Linked DNA regions of Homo sapiens: regions 2 and 3 are each linked to region 1. The links are contacts of gene promoters, found by promoter capture Hi-C in blood cells and fetal thymus (Javierre and others, 2016). All regions are on one chromosome and are shown on one strand. The core of a region is centred on a gene start or on the middle of the fragment in contact, and the rest is flanking DNA. Distances in the headings are between cores, read along the strand shown.

What was found. Contacts are between HindIII fragments. The CHiCAGO score rates a contact against its expected background, and 5 or more counts as called.
Region 2: a fragment that was not itself captured here is called in contact with the fragment with the promoter of DEFB119 in region 1 in 1 of 17 cell types (M1 macrophages); the score reaches 6.2 in M1 macrophages.
Region 3: a contact is called between the fragment with the promoter of DEFB116 here and the fragment with the promoter of DEFB119 in region 1, in 1 of 17 cell types (M1 macrophages). The highest score is 5.3, in M1 macrophages.

Annotation. Positions count from the first base shown.
Region 1 is chr20:31,388,575-31,392,423 of GRCh38, reverse strand. It overlaps DEFB119 (defensin beta 119), which reads left to right and starts at 1,834. Exons shown (of 2, transcript NM_153289.4): 1 at 1,834-2,001. The coding sequence starts at 1,941. The HindIII fragment of the contact is 16,203 bases long and covers 1-3,849 here.
Region 2 is chr20:31,488,956-31,492,804 of GRCh38, reverse strand. No RefSeq gene overlaps it. Among named protein-coding and RNA genes, the nearest start is that of LINC00028, 5.1 kb to the right of the region's middle. The HindIII fragment of the contact is 4,898 bases long and covers 1-3,849 here.
Region 3 is chr20:31,306,430-31,310,278 of GRCh38, reverse strand. It overlaps DEFB116 (defensin beta 116), which reads left to right and starts at 1,694. Exons shown (of 2, transcript NM_001037731.1): 1 at 1,694-1,760. The coding sequence starts at 1,694. The HindIII fragment of the contact is 2,687 bases long and covers 1-2,539 here.

The DNA of each region.
Region 1 (3,849 bases), core at 585-3,084:
GTCTCACCCTGTTGCCTAGGCTGGAGTGCAGTGGTACGATCTCAGCTCACTGCAACTTCCACCTCCTGGGTTCAAGCCATTCTCCTGCCTCAGGCTCCTGAGTAGCTGGGATTACGGTGCTCACCACCACGTCTGGCTAATTTTTTTTTTTTTTTTTGTATTTTTAGTAGAGACGAGGTTTCATCAGTTTGGCCAGGCTGGTCTTGAACTCCTACCTCAAATGATCCACCGACCTTGGCCTCCCAATGTGCTGGGATCACAGGTGTGAGCCACTGTGCCAAGCCGAGGGGTGAAACTTCTGAGTGGTGTCCTTAAAGGGAAAGGTGTTGCATTTCACTTCCATCACTCCTCCTTTCCTGATGGCTGGATGGGAACTTGACGGTGGGAACTGGAGCAGCTCAGGGTCATCACATGATGCAGCCTCTTGAGGATGGCAGAGCATCAAGCCAAAAGGAACCTAGATCCCTGCTGAATGGTGAAGCTGTCACACTTAACTGCATACCCAGACTTTTACATAAAAAAGAAATCCATGTCTGTCTTTTGGAATCATTCTTATTTGGGGGGAATATCAGTTAAAACAGTTGAATAAGTATCTTAATACACCAGGTGATGTTATGGGTACTGGGGTTATAAGCCAGGTTTCTGACATTCTAAGTGGAGAGACAAAAATCAAACATGTAAAATAAAATTTAAAAGAATAGATACATATATGAAGATCATAAACCAAGTTATTACAGTCCAGAGTGACTGTGGGTTGGAGTTACCGTTATCTAAGGTGGCCAGGGAAAGTCTCTCCAAGGAGGTGACATTTGGGATGATATGGAATGATGAGCAGGAGATTTTCATGGGAAGATTTGGAGAAAGAGCTTTACAGGGAGAACAGATGACAACTGCTAAGGCCCTGAACTGGAAACAAGATTGGCAAGTTCAAAGTTCTGAAAGACATTACACATGTGTATCCTTCTGTTAGAAAGCTGAGACACATGTGTATCCTTCTGTTAGAAAGCTGAGAATAAGTAATTCTCGTTTAATTTATTTTTTAAAATTTTTTTATTTTTATTTTCGAGATGGAGTTTTGCTCTGTCACCTAGGCTGGAGTGCAATAGCGTGATCTCAGCTCACTGCAACCTCTGCCTCCCAGGTTCAAGCAATTCTCCTGCCTCAACCTCCCTAGTAGCTGGGATTACAGGCACCTGGCTAATTTTTGTATTTTTAGTAGAGACGGGGTTTCACCATGTTGGCCAGGCTGGTCTCGAACTCCTGACCTTGTGATCTCCCTGTCTTCGCCTCCCAAAGTGCTGGGATTACAGGTGTGAGCCACCACACCTGGCCTGTTTAATTTAGTTTTTAAGATTTAAATATCTTTTAAACATTTATAGGAAAAAATATATTTTAAAACAGAACATAATCATGGAGAACAATATTGTCACCAAACATGACAAGACAGTTAATATAATAACAGCACTGAAGAGCTCTTGCAAATCAGCAAGTACCCAACAACACCCCAATAGAATTGTCCAGATATCTGACTAAATAATTCAAAAGGAAGAAACAAAGAGACAAATACATGTGTTGAATAAATGTTCTTACTATTTATCAGAGAAGTGCAAAGTAATTTTTAAGTTAAATATTTCTTGATATGTATTTATTATGCATTAATTAATTCCTTTGTGGGTCTCACAGGCCAAATGGCTTTAATTGACCTGTCCCTTTACTGGCATTGGTACTGGCCAGTTTCCCACACTCTCATCTTGTGCTTTGCTGAGACATCTGCTACACACTGTCCTTTGGCCTGGATGACCTCATATAAATCCCCTCCTGTTCTAATTCACTGCCCACAGCCCTGCTGATAAAAGCAAAGCTCATCTCTGCCGTGCTGCAGGGAACCCTATTTCCTTCCCCTGCAGCTCAGCCACCTCCTCCTCTCAGGTCTGCCAGCCATGAAACTTCTTTACCTGTTTCTTGCCATCCTTCTGGCCATAGAAGAACCAGTGATATCAGGTAACGTGAACCTCTCTCGGGGGTCTGGGTTCCTGGTCATGGGCTTCCCGTCTTTCCCTTCCCTCTCACTGTGGGCATCATCTGAAGCCTTTCCTTCTCTCCTGCAGCTTCGGGAGGTTTGCCCAGGATCATCTCAAGTTAATATCTCTCTCTGATTCTTTTTTGCCAGAGTGGTGGGATGATAGATGTTTGGAGCATCTGGTGCTTGAGGGCCAGGGTGGTATCCTGGTGGGAGCTTGGGAGAGGTTTGAGGGGCAAAGCGTGGGTGCAGGTTGGGGACTTGTTGAGGACTTCGGGAGACTAGAGTGGAAGCTGGGGTGAGTTGTGATGTGGAGGAAAAACCTTGGGATTGGAGTGATAGAAGGAATATTAGGATGAGCTGGAGGTGAGGAGCTGGGCTTCCCTGATGGTTTAGGGCAGAGTTGGAGACAGGATGGGATTTGGGGTTGAGTGGAGCTGGTGTTGAGGATTAGGCTGGGGCTTGGGCTGAGGCTGGGAGTCGGTGCTGGATGCTGCAGGGTGATTGGGTTCAGCTTGGTCATGGCATACTGCTGGGAATTGAGGTTAGTGACTTGATTAGATTAGGGTTAGATTAGATTAGATTAGGGTTTGGCTTGGAGTTGGGGCTTGGGGGCATTGAGTTGAGTAAGGCTGGGAGTTCTAATTAAGGCAGGCCTGAATGAGTTTGAGTTTGAATTGGGTTAATATAGGGTCAAGGAAGATTGCAGATTGGGATGCGGCTGGAGCTGAGGCTTGTTGGGCTTATGTGAAATAGGGTCAGGTTATTGATAAGAAACAGGGTCTGTGTAATGTGAGTGAATCCTCTTCGTTCCCTAATATTACAGGTGATCATGTCCTTTTCCCTTCATCCCTAGCTCTGCTAGGTGGGACATTAATTAGCTTCAGTTGATTCCAAAGTAAGGAGTAGGAAGTTGGGGGCTAGGAAGACAGAAGGGTGAGAAGTCCAAAAAAGGCTCTCCCAAAAACTTCGGAGCTCTCAGTTGGAACCATTGTCTCAGTTCTCTTCCCTCTCAAGGTCTCTTCTCTCTTTTCCTGGGACTGGGTCTGGCATTACTCACTCAGCTGGCTTTCTTCTCTTCTTCCCTGTCCTCCTGTTCCTCCTCTGCCTTGTCTTTTCTCTCCGCTTGAGGGATACTAACATCTGCTTAATTGTTGTTCATATGCCCCAAAGTAGAGTGTTGGATGGATGGACACTGCCGGTTGTTGTGCAAAGATGGTGAAGACAGCATCATACGCTGCCGAAATCGTAAACGGTGCTGTGTTCCTAGTCGTTATTTAACAATCCAACCAGTAACAATTCATGGAATCCTTGGCTGGACCACTCCTCAGATGTCCACAACAGCTCCAAAAATGAAGACAAATATAACTAATAGATAGAAATGACTTTGTTTCAGGTTGCTTAGGGTCCACATTTCATTAAAACTCACAAATTTGTTTCTGGTGTCTGTCAATCATAAGGAATGATACTTCAAATGGATTGAGGGTGGGGGGATGGCAGGGGGAGGTGAAGAGCTAGTCGAGAGAAGTCACTAGGGCTGGGTCATAGCGATGGTGTGATCATTACAGTCTTGAAGATGATTCCCCATCTACCAGCTGCAGGAGAGGCTATTGAGTCAGGAGTGGACTGGGGAGAACATGGTGGGAGCTGAGAGATTTAAAGGCATAGCAGATGCCTAAAGAGTGGGAGAATCCTTAGGCTGGGAGAGTTGGTCCATCTTGAGAGTGAATGGGCTGAGAGTGGATGGGGCTGAATATAACCCAAATCCTTGGGGTTCTAGAGAAACCAGCTGATGCTTTCTAGTGCTCAAGAGGCCCAGCCCCAGGGGT
Region 2 (3,849 bases), core at 594-3,093, 100 kb before region 1:
GCCACTACATCTGGCTAATTCTTGTAATTTTTGTAGAGATGGGGTTTCACTGTGCTGCCCAGGCTGGTCTTGAATTCCTGGGGTCAAGAGATCCACTGGTGTTGGCCTCTCAAAGTGAACGGATCACAGACAAGAGCCACTGTACCCGTCCCAAGCTGTTTTTTTTGTTTGTTTGTTTTGTTTTTTTTTTGTTTTTTTTTTTGATGGAGTCTCGCTCTGTTGCCCAGGCTGGAGTGCAGTGGCACAATCTCAACTTACTGCAACCTCTGCCTCCCGAGTTCAAGCAATTCTCCTGCCTCAGCTTCCTGAGTAGCTGGGATTACAGGCGCCTGCCACCATGCCTGGCTAATTTTTTGTATTTTTAGTAGAGACTGAGTTTCACCATGCTGGCCAGGCCGGTCTCGAACTCCTGACCTGAAGTGGTCCACCCACGTCGGCCTCCCAAAGTGCTGGGATTACAGGTGTGAACCACCGTGCCCAGGCACCAGGGTTTAAAAAAAAAATCACAATTAGGCCAGGCGTGGTGGCTCATGCCTGTAATCCCAGCACTTTGGGAGGCTGAGGCGGGTGGATCACGAGGTCAGGAGATTGAGACCATCCTGGCTAACACGGTGAAACCCCGTCTCTACTAAAAATACAAAAAAAAAAAAAAATAGCCGGGCGTGGTGGCGGGTGCCTGTAGTCCCAGCTGCTTGGGAGGCTGAGACAGGAGAATGGTGTGAACCCGGGAGGCAGAGCTTGCAGTGAGTCGAGATCACGCCACTGCACTACAGCCTGGGCAACAGAGTGAGACACAGTCTCAAAAAAAAAAAAAAAATAGCCGGGCACGGTGGCAGGTGTCTGTAATCTCAGCTACTCGGGAGGCTGAGGCAGGAGAATCTCTTGAATCCGGGGGGCAGAGGTTGCAGTGAGCCAAGATCGCGCCACTGTACTCCAGCCTGGGTGACAGAGTGAGACTCCATCTCAAAAAACAAACAAACAAAAAAACACAAAATGACAATCAGCAATAATTATTTAAGAATTAGGGCTGGGTGGCCAGGCGCGGTGGCTCATGCCTGTAATCCCAGCACTTTGGGAGGCCGAGGTGAGCAGATCACCTGAGGTCGGGAGTTCGAGACCAGCCTGATCAACATGGAGAAACCCCATCTCTAATAAAAATACAAAAAATTAGCTGGGTGTGGTGGTGCATGCTTGTAGTTCCAGCTACTCGGGAGGCTGAGGTAGGAAAATCGCTTGAACCTGGGAGGTGGAGGTTGCTGTAAGCTGAGATCGCACCATTGCACTCCAGCCTGGGCAACAAGAGCGAATCTCCATCTCAAAAAAAAAAAATAAAAAAGAATTAGGGCTGGGTGAAGTGGCTCACACTTGTAATCCCAGCACTTTGGGAAGCCAAGACGGGAGGATCATTTGAGTCCAGGAGTTTGAAGCCAGCCCGAGCAACATAGAGAGACCCTGACTGTACAAAAAAAGAAAAAAAAAATTAGCTATGCCTGGTGGTGCATGCCTGTGGCCCAGCTACTTGGAGGCTGAGGCAGGAGGATCCCCTGAGCCTGGGAGGTTGAGGCTGCAGTGAGCTGTGATCGCACCACTGCACTCTAGCCTGGGGCAATAGAGTGAGACCCTGCCTCAAAACAAAAGGATTGGGATACTTCACATAAAGATCTGGCTCTCTGCCTTTCTTAGAAAAACTGACATGCGGTATCTGGCAACACTGGGTTCATATTCCAACAGTAGTCACAGGCAGCTTAGTTCGTATCCTCCTTTTAGGCAAGGCAGCTGATTCCAGTTTGCCATAGACTTGATGCTGCCTAATGTCCTCTACCCAGTTGACTTCACTGACTTATATTATTGGTCTGACTCTGTGAGCATTTGAGTTAGTGAATCCTGGTTTCAGTTTTGGAATTAATGTGTGTGCATGTGTATGTGTGTATGTAAGACTCAAAAATTGCTTTCCAGACAATCTTTTTTTTTTTGGAAACATTGTCTTGCTCTGTTGCTCAGGCTGGAGTGCAGTGGTGCAATCTTGGCTTATTGCAACCTCCGCTTCCTTGGTTCAAGGGATTCTCCTGCCTCAGCCTCCCAAGTAGCTAGGATTACAGGCCCGCACCACCGTGTCTCGCTATTTTTTTTTTTTTTTGTATTTTTAGTAGAGACAGGATTTCACCATGTTGGCCAGGCAGGTCTTGAACTCCTGACCTGAGGTGATCTGCCCACTTTGGCCTCCCAAAGTTTCATTCCAGACAATTCTGTGAAAAGGCATCTATCCTCATTCACAGAGTTGGGTAGACCCTGAAGTGGACTGGATTTGGAATGGTCACACTCACTCTGGACTGTTTTGTAAGACTGGAAAAGCTAAGAGCATGCACCCTTGACTGCCTGACTAGAGCACTTGGGGTGTTAACCCAGCTCTAGCTTTTCTTCTTGGTGTGGTCATGTTGTACTTTATGCAAACCCTGATTAACCTAAGCCACTGATTAGTTTGAAGGTGGCCATGTAACCAGATTCTGGCCAGTGAGAACTGGAAGAGTTTCCTTGCTGATGAAAGGGACATGCTGAGGAAGAGACAACCTTTTTGCTTTGCCTGGACCTTGTCATGTCCACGTTTCATGCCTGAAACTGGGGTGGCCATATTGGGACCCTAAGGGTAGCTATCCCAGGGCAAGCTGAGACCCAGAAGATGGCAGAGTGGAAAGATGGAAAGAGGAACTCTCATATTTGTGCTCAAAGAGGCACATGCAATGTTCATAGTGCATTATTTATAGCAGAAAAAAAGCCCATCAAGAGGAAGAAAAGATAAATAAATCTTATATGTTCATACAGTGGAATACTGTGCAGTGATGAAAAAGAATAGTTACAGATTTCAACACAAGGAATCTCATAAATATAATGTTGAATGTGAAAAATAATAAAGCTGAAGGATACATATAGTATGATGTTTAAAAGCATCCAATACTTTGCCTTAGCAAAATATATCTGTGGGAAAAAGTATAAAGTAATGCATGGAAATGCATTACAATTTATTGAGTGCTTACTGAGTGCAAAGCATCATGCTAACAAATAGCCAACCTGATTGAATTCTCACATCGACCCTTAGTGAGAAATACTATTTTTTTTTTTGTTTTTGAGACAGAGTCTTGGTCTGTCGCCCAGGCTGGAGTGCAGGGGCATGATCTCGGCTCACTGCAACCTCTGCCTCCAGGATTCAAGTGATTCCCCTGCCTCAGCCTCCTGAGCAGCTGGGAACACAGGCACGTGCCACCATGCCCAGCTAACTTTTTTTGTATTTTTAATGGAGATGGAGTTTCAACATGTTGGCCAGCTTGTCTTGAACTCCTGACCTCAGGTGATCCGCCCACCTCGGCCTCCCAAAGTGCTGGGATTACAGTCATGAGCCACTGTGCCTGGCCAAGAAGTACTATTAATATCCCCACTTTCCAGATGAGAAAACTGAGGCCTAGAGAGGGGAAGTAAATTACCAATGGCATATAGTGGTTCTTTCTTAAGTACTAAAAACTTCATTTAATCCTATGGGATAAGAATTATCACCTCTCATTTCAAAACGAAGGAAAGGAGAACCCAGCTCACACAGAGATCAAGTGCTTGAGGTGGGATTAAACACAGGTTTCTTCTAGTTCCAAAGCCTGTGCTTTTCCACCAATAAATTGTCACATCCACAATGGATGGGAATATAAGCCACAACACACACACACACATACACACAAACCTTAGCCTTGAACTTGAACCATATGGAACTGGGTAAAACCACACACATTGCTGCACCCAGAGCTCCCATCCCATCATTCGTATTATTTTTAACTGAACCCTGAACTGAACAGAAGGGAACAGTGC
Region 3 (3,849 bases), core at 445-2,944, 82 kb after region 1:
GAAAGGATGTTAATAACTAAAATGAAAACAGGTGCAAGTATGAAACTCACTGGTAAAAGTAAGTACACAGTTAAATTCAGAATACTCTAATACTGTAAAGATGATAAGTCACTAATATATTGAGTATAAAACAAAATACAAAACTATTAATAATAAGTTACAATAATCTGATAAGGGATACACACAATATAAACAGTAAATTGTGACATCAGAAACATAAATTATCAGGAGAGATACAATAAAAATGTAGAATCATATTTTGCAACCAAAGTTAAGTGGTTATCAGCTTTAAACAGCCGGTTATAACAACATATGTTTTGTGTAACCCTTATAGTAATCACAAAGCAAAAACTGACAGTAGATACACAAAGGATAAGAAGAAAGGAATCAAAGCATTCTAATATAGAAAATAATCTAATCACAAAGGAAGATAGCAAAAGAGGAAGAAAGGAACAAAGGATGTATAAAATAACCAGAAAAGAATGAACAAAATGGCAAAAGTAAATCCTTACCTATCAATACTTACTTTGAATGTAAATGGATTCAGTTTGCCAATTGAAGGAGTGGCTGAATTGATTTTTTTAAATGACTCAACTGTATTTTGCTTACAAGAGACTCATTTCAGTTTTAAGGAAACACATAGGCTGAAAGTTAAGTGATGGAAAAAGATGTTCCATGGAAAAAGAAACCAGAAAAGAGCAGGAACAGCTTTTCTTACAACAGAAAAAATAGACTTTAGGTAAAAAACCACAAAGTGAGACAAAGAAGGTCATTATATAATAATAAAGGGATCAATTAATTGAGAGATCAGCATGTCCATCACCTCAAATATTTATTATTTATTTGTGATGAGGTCATTTAAAAATCTTTCTTTTAGCTCTTTACATTATTATTAACTATAGATACTGGAGTACTATTCAGCCTTTAAAAAACAGAAAATTCTGTTATTTGCAATCATATGAATGAACCTAGAAGACACTATGTGAAGTGAAATAAAGCAGGCACAGAGAGACACATACCATATGATCTCACTTAGATGTGGAATCTAAAAAAATTGAACTCATAGACGTAGAGATTAGCATGGTTGTTACCAGAGCCTCGAGGGAGGGTGGATGGGGAAAGGGGAGACATTGGTCAATGGGTACAAACTTTCGGTTAGATAGGAGGAATAAGTTCTGGTGTTCTGTGGGCACAGCATGGTGACTACAGTTAAAAATAATTATTTATTTCTTTTTTTACAATTATACTTTAAGTGCTGGGGTACATGTGCAGAACGTGCAGGTTTGTTACATAGGTATACACGTGCCTCACATAGGTATACACGTGCTTATTTCTTATCTAATTGTTTATAAGTTTTTTCAAGTTTGCTTGCTTGCTTGGTTGATTCATTCATTCAAATTCGTTTCACACAAAATGCCAACTGGCTCTAATTTGTCTTTATTTCTTAATGGGAAGAAAGGCCCACACAGACATGAGCACTGCTGGCAAGTCTCCCACGCTTACACAGAGTATCCAGCTCAGATAAGTGATACATGTTGTCCTTCTTCCTGCCTGACATCAGGTATCTCCCATCCCTTTTAGTTCACTGCACAGAACCCTGACGCATTTCCAAAACTAATAAAGGCGGGCTACTGCTCTGCTACAGTGATCTCTGTTTGGTCACCTGCAACACAGCCCTTCATTCTGGTGGAACATGTCAGTCATGAAGCCCTGTTTAATGACCATTGCCATCCTTATGATCCTGGCTCAAAAGACTCCAGGTAACTCAGGCCTCTCTCAAAGGTTCTGGCGTCTTGCATGTGGTACTGGTATCTTGGTGACCTCTGCAGTGACTCCTACTCACATATAGTGGGCAACACCTAAAGCCTTTTCTGGTCTCAGGTGGGTCACAGATGTTATTCCCAAGGTTAATTTCATGTAAAGATCTCCCCTGGTTCTGCTCTGCCAAGACAAATTGAAGAGGTTGTTGATCCTGGCATAGTGGACAGTCTAAGCATGGAACATTTTAGGTAGTGCTGTCATTGGGATGGGGGCTTAATTCATGAGTTAGGTGTGAGAGACTGTGTGCAAGTTGAGGAGCTATAGGAGGGGTATAGCAGTTTGGAGTTGGGTAGGGAGTTGAGGTGGGGAGGTTGTAAGACCTTAGAGATAGGGTAATATCCAAAAAGTGAGTGGGGATGAGCATGGGGTGAATAATTGTATTTATAGGTTGGGCTGAATAGATGTTTTGGTGCATTCTAGAGAGGAAATGGTATTTTTTCTTGAATGGAGCTGGGGTAGAGTTGGTGCAACTGGGAGTTGGGGTATAGAGAGGTTTGTAGCTGGGTTGTGTTTTAGATTGATGCTGTGAATGGGGTTGGGTGGCTTGGATAGTGTTATGTTTGTATGTTTTGCAGTTGGGCTTTTGGTGGTTATTAGAAGAGGTAGGGCTTGAGTTGTAGTTAGTGTTTGCCTAAAGTGGGTATCTTATTCAGTCATGGGTATGTGAGGTTTATCTGGGCAGGGATTGACTTAGCCTGGGTTTGGGGGTGATTAAGCTTGAGTAAGACAGTTGAATTCATCACAGCAGGGTTGTGGCTATTGAAATAAGGAGAATATTGACTCCTTCTCAGATATATGATTTGCAAATATTTTCTCCCATTCCATAGGTTGTTTCTTCATTTTGTAGACTGTTTCCTTTGCTGTGCAGAAACTTTCTAGATTGCTGCAATCCCCTTGTTTATTTTTGCTTTTGTTGCCTGTGCTTTGGTGTCATATCCAGAAAATCCTTCCCAAGGCCAACGTCAAGAAGCTTTTTCTCTATGTTTTCTCCTAGGAGTTTTATAGTTTCAGGTCTTAGATTTAAGTCTTTAATCCATTTTGAATTTGTTTTTGTGTATGGTGTAAGATAAATATCCAATTTTATTATTTTGCATCTAGATACCTAGTTTTCCCAATACATTTATTGAAGAGACTATACTGTCATGAATATGTCCTAGAAATCTACTGTACAACACAGTTCCTATAGTTAACGGTACTGTGTTGGATATTTCAAAAATTACCAAGGGAGTGGATTTTATGTTAAGTGTTCTTAAAATAAGATTTGATGTACCAAAAATAATAAATAAGATGGTGGGAGAAAACTTTTAGGCGTGGATAGGTTTATGGCATAGATTGTGATGATGGTTTCATGGGTGTAATGTATGCTTATCTCCAAACTCATCAAAATGTATAAATTAAATATGTATAGCTTTTTGTGTGCCAATTGTACTTCAACAAAGTGATTTAAATAAGGAAATGGGGAGAATAAACACTGGATGAAAAATATCCAGTATTATTTTCAAATTCTGAAGAAAGTTTCTTAAGTGTGATTTTCAAGGGCACTGAAGAACAATAGATGTGACTGTAGATGGCTGAGATAGAGGAAGTCAGGAGACTGGAATGTTTGGAATTGTCTCCTGTCAAATCTTGGCATGTACAGAGAGATATGGGAGCAGTCTCAGCCCACCCTATAGAAAACCAAGATTGTTCTTCCTTCCTCGATAGTGAGTTCAGATTCATCTGATCTAGAGGTTTCTCCTCCTCTTCCTCTTTCTTCTCTGTTTTTCTTCTTCTTTTCCTCCTCTCTTTTCTCATATTCCTTCTATTTCACATTCTCATGCCTCCTTATTTCTCAGCTTCTTTTATTCCTTTGCTCAAGAGACATTTGTTCTCATGCTCAGTAAAGCTCAGTTCTCATTTCTAATGGTGGTAGAAAACACAAGTGGGTTTGCAAGAAACACAAACAACAACAAAAATGAAGACAGCACTCTATGCTTCAAGAGTTGTACATAGTGTAGCTTCCTTAATAATTATTGAGTACTTTTACTT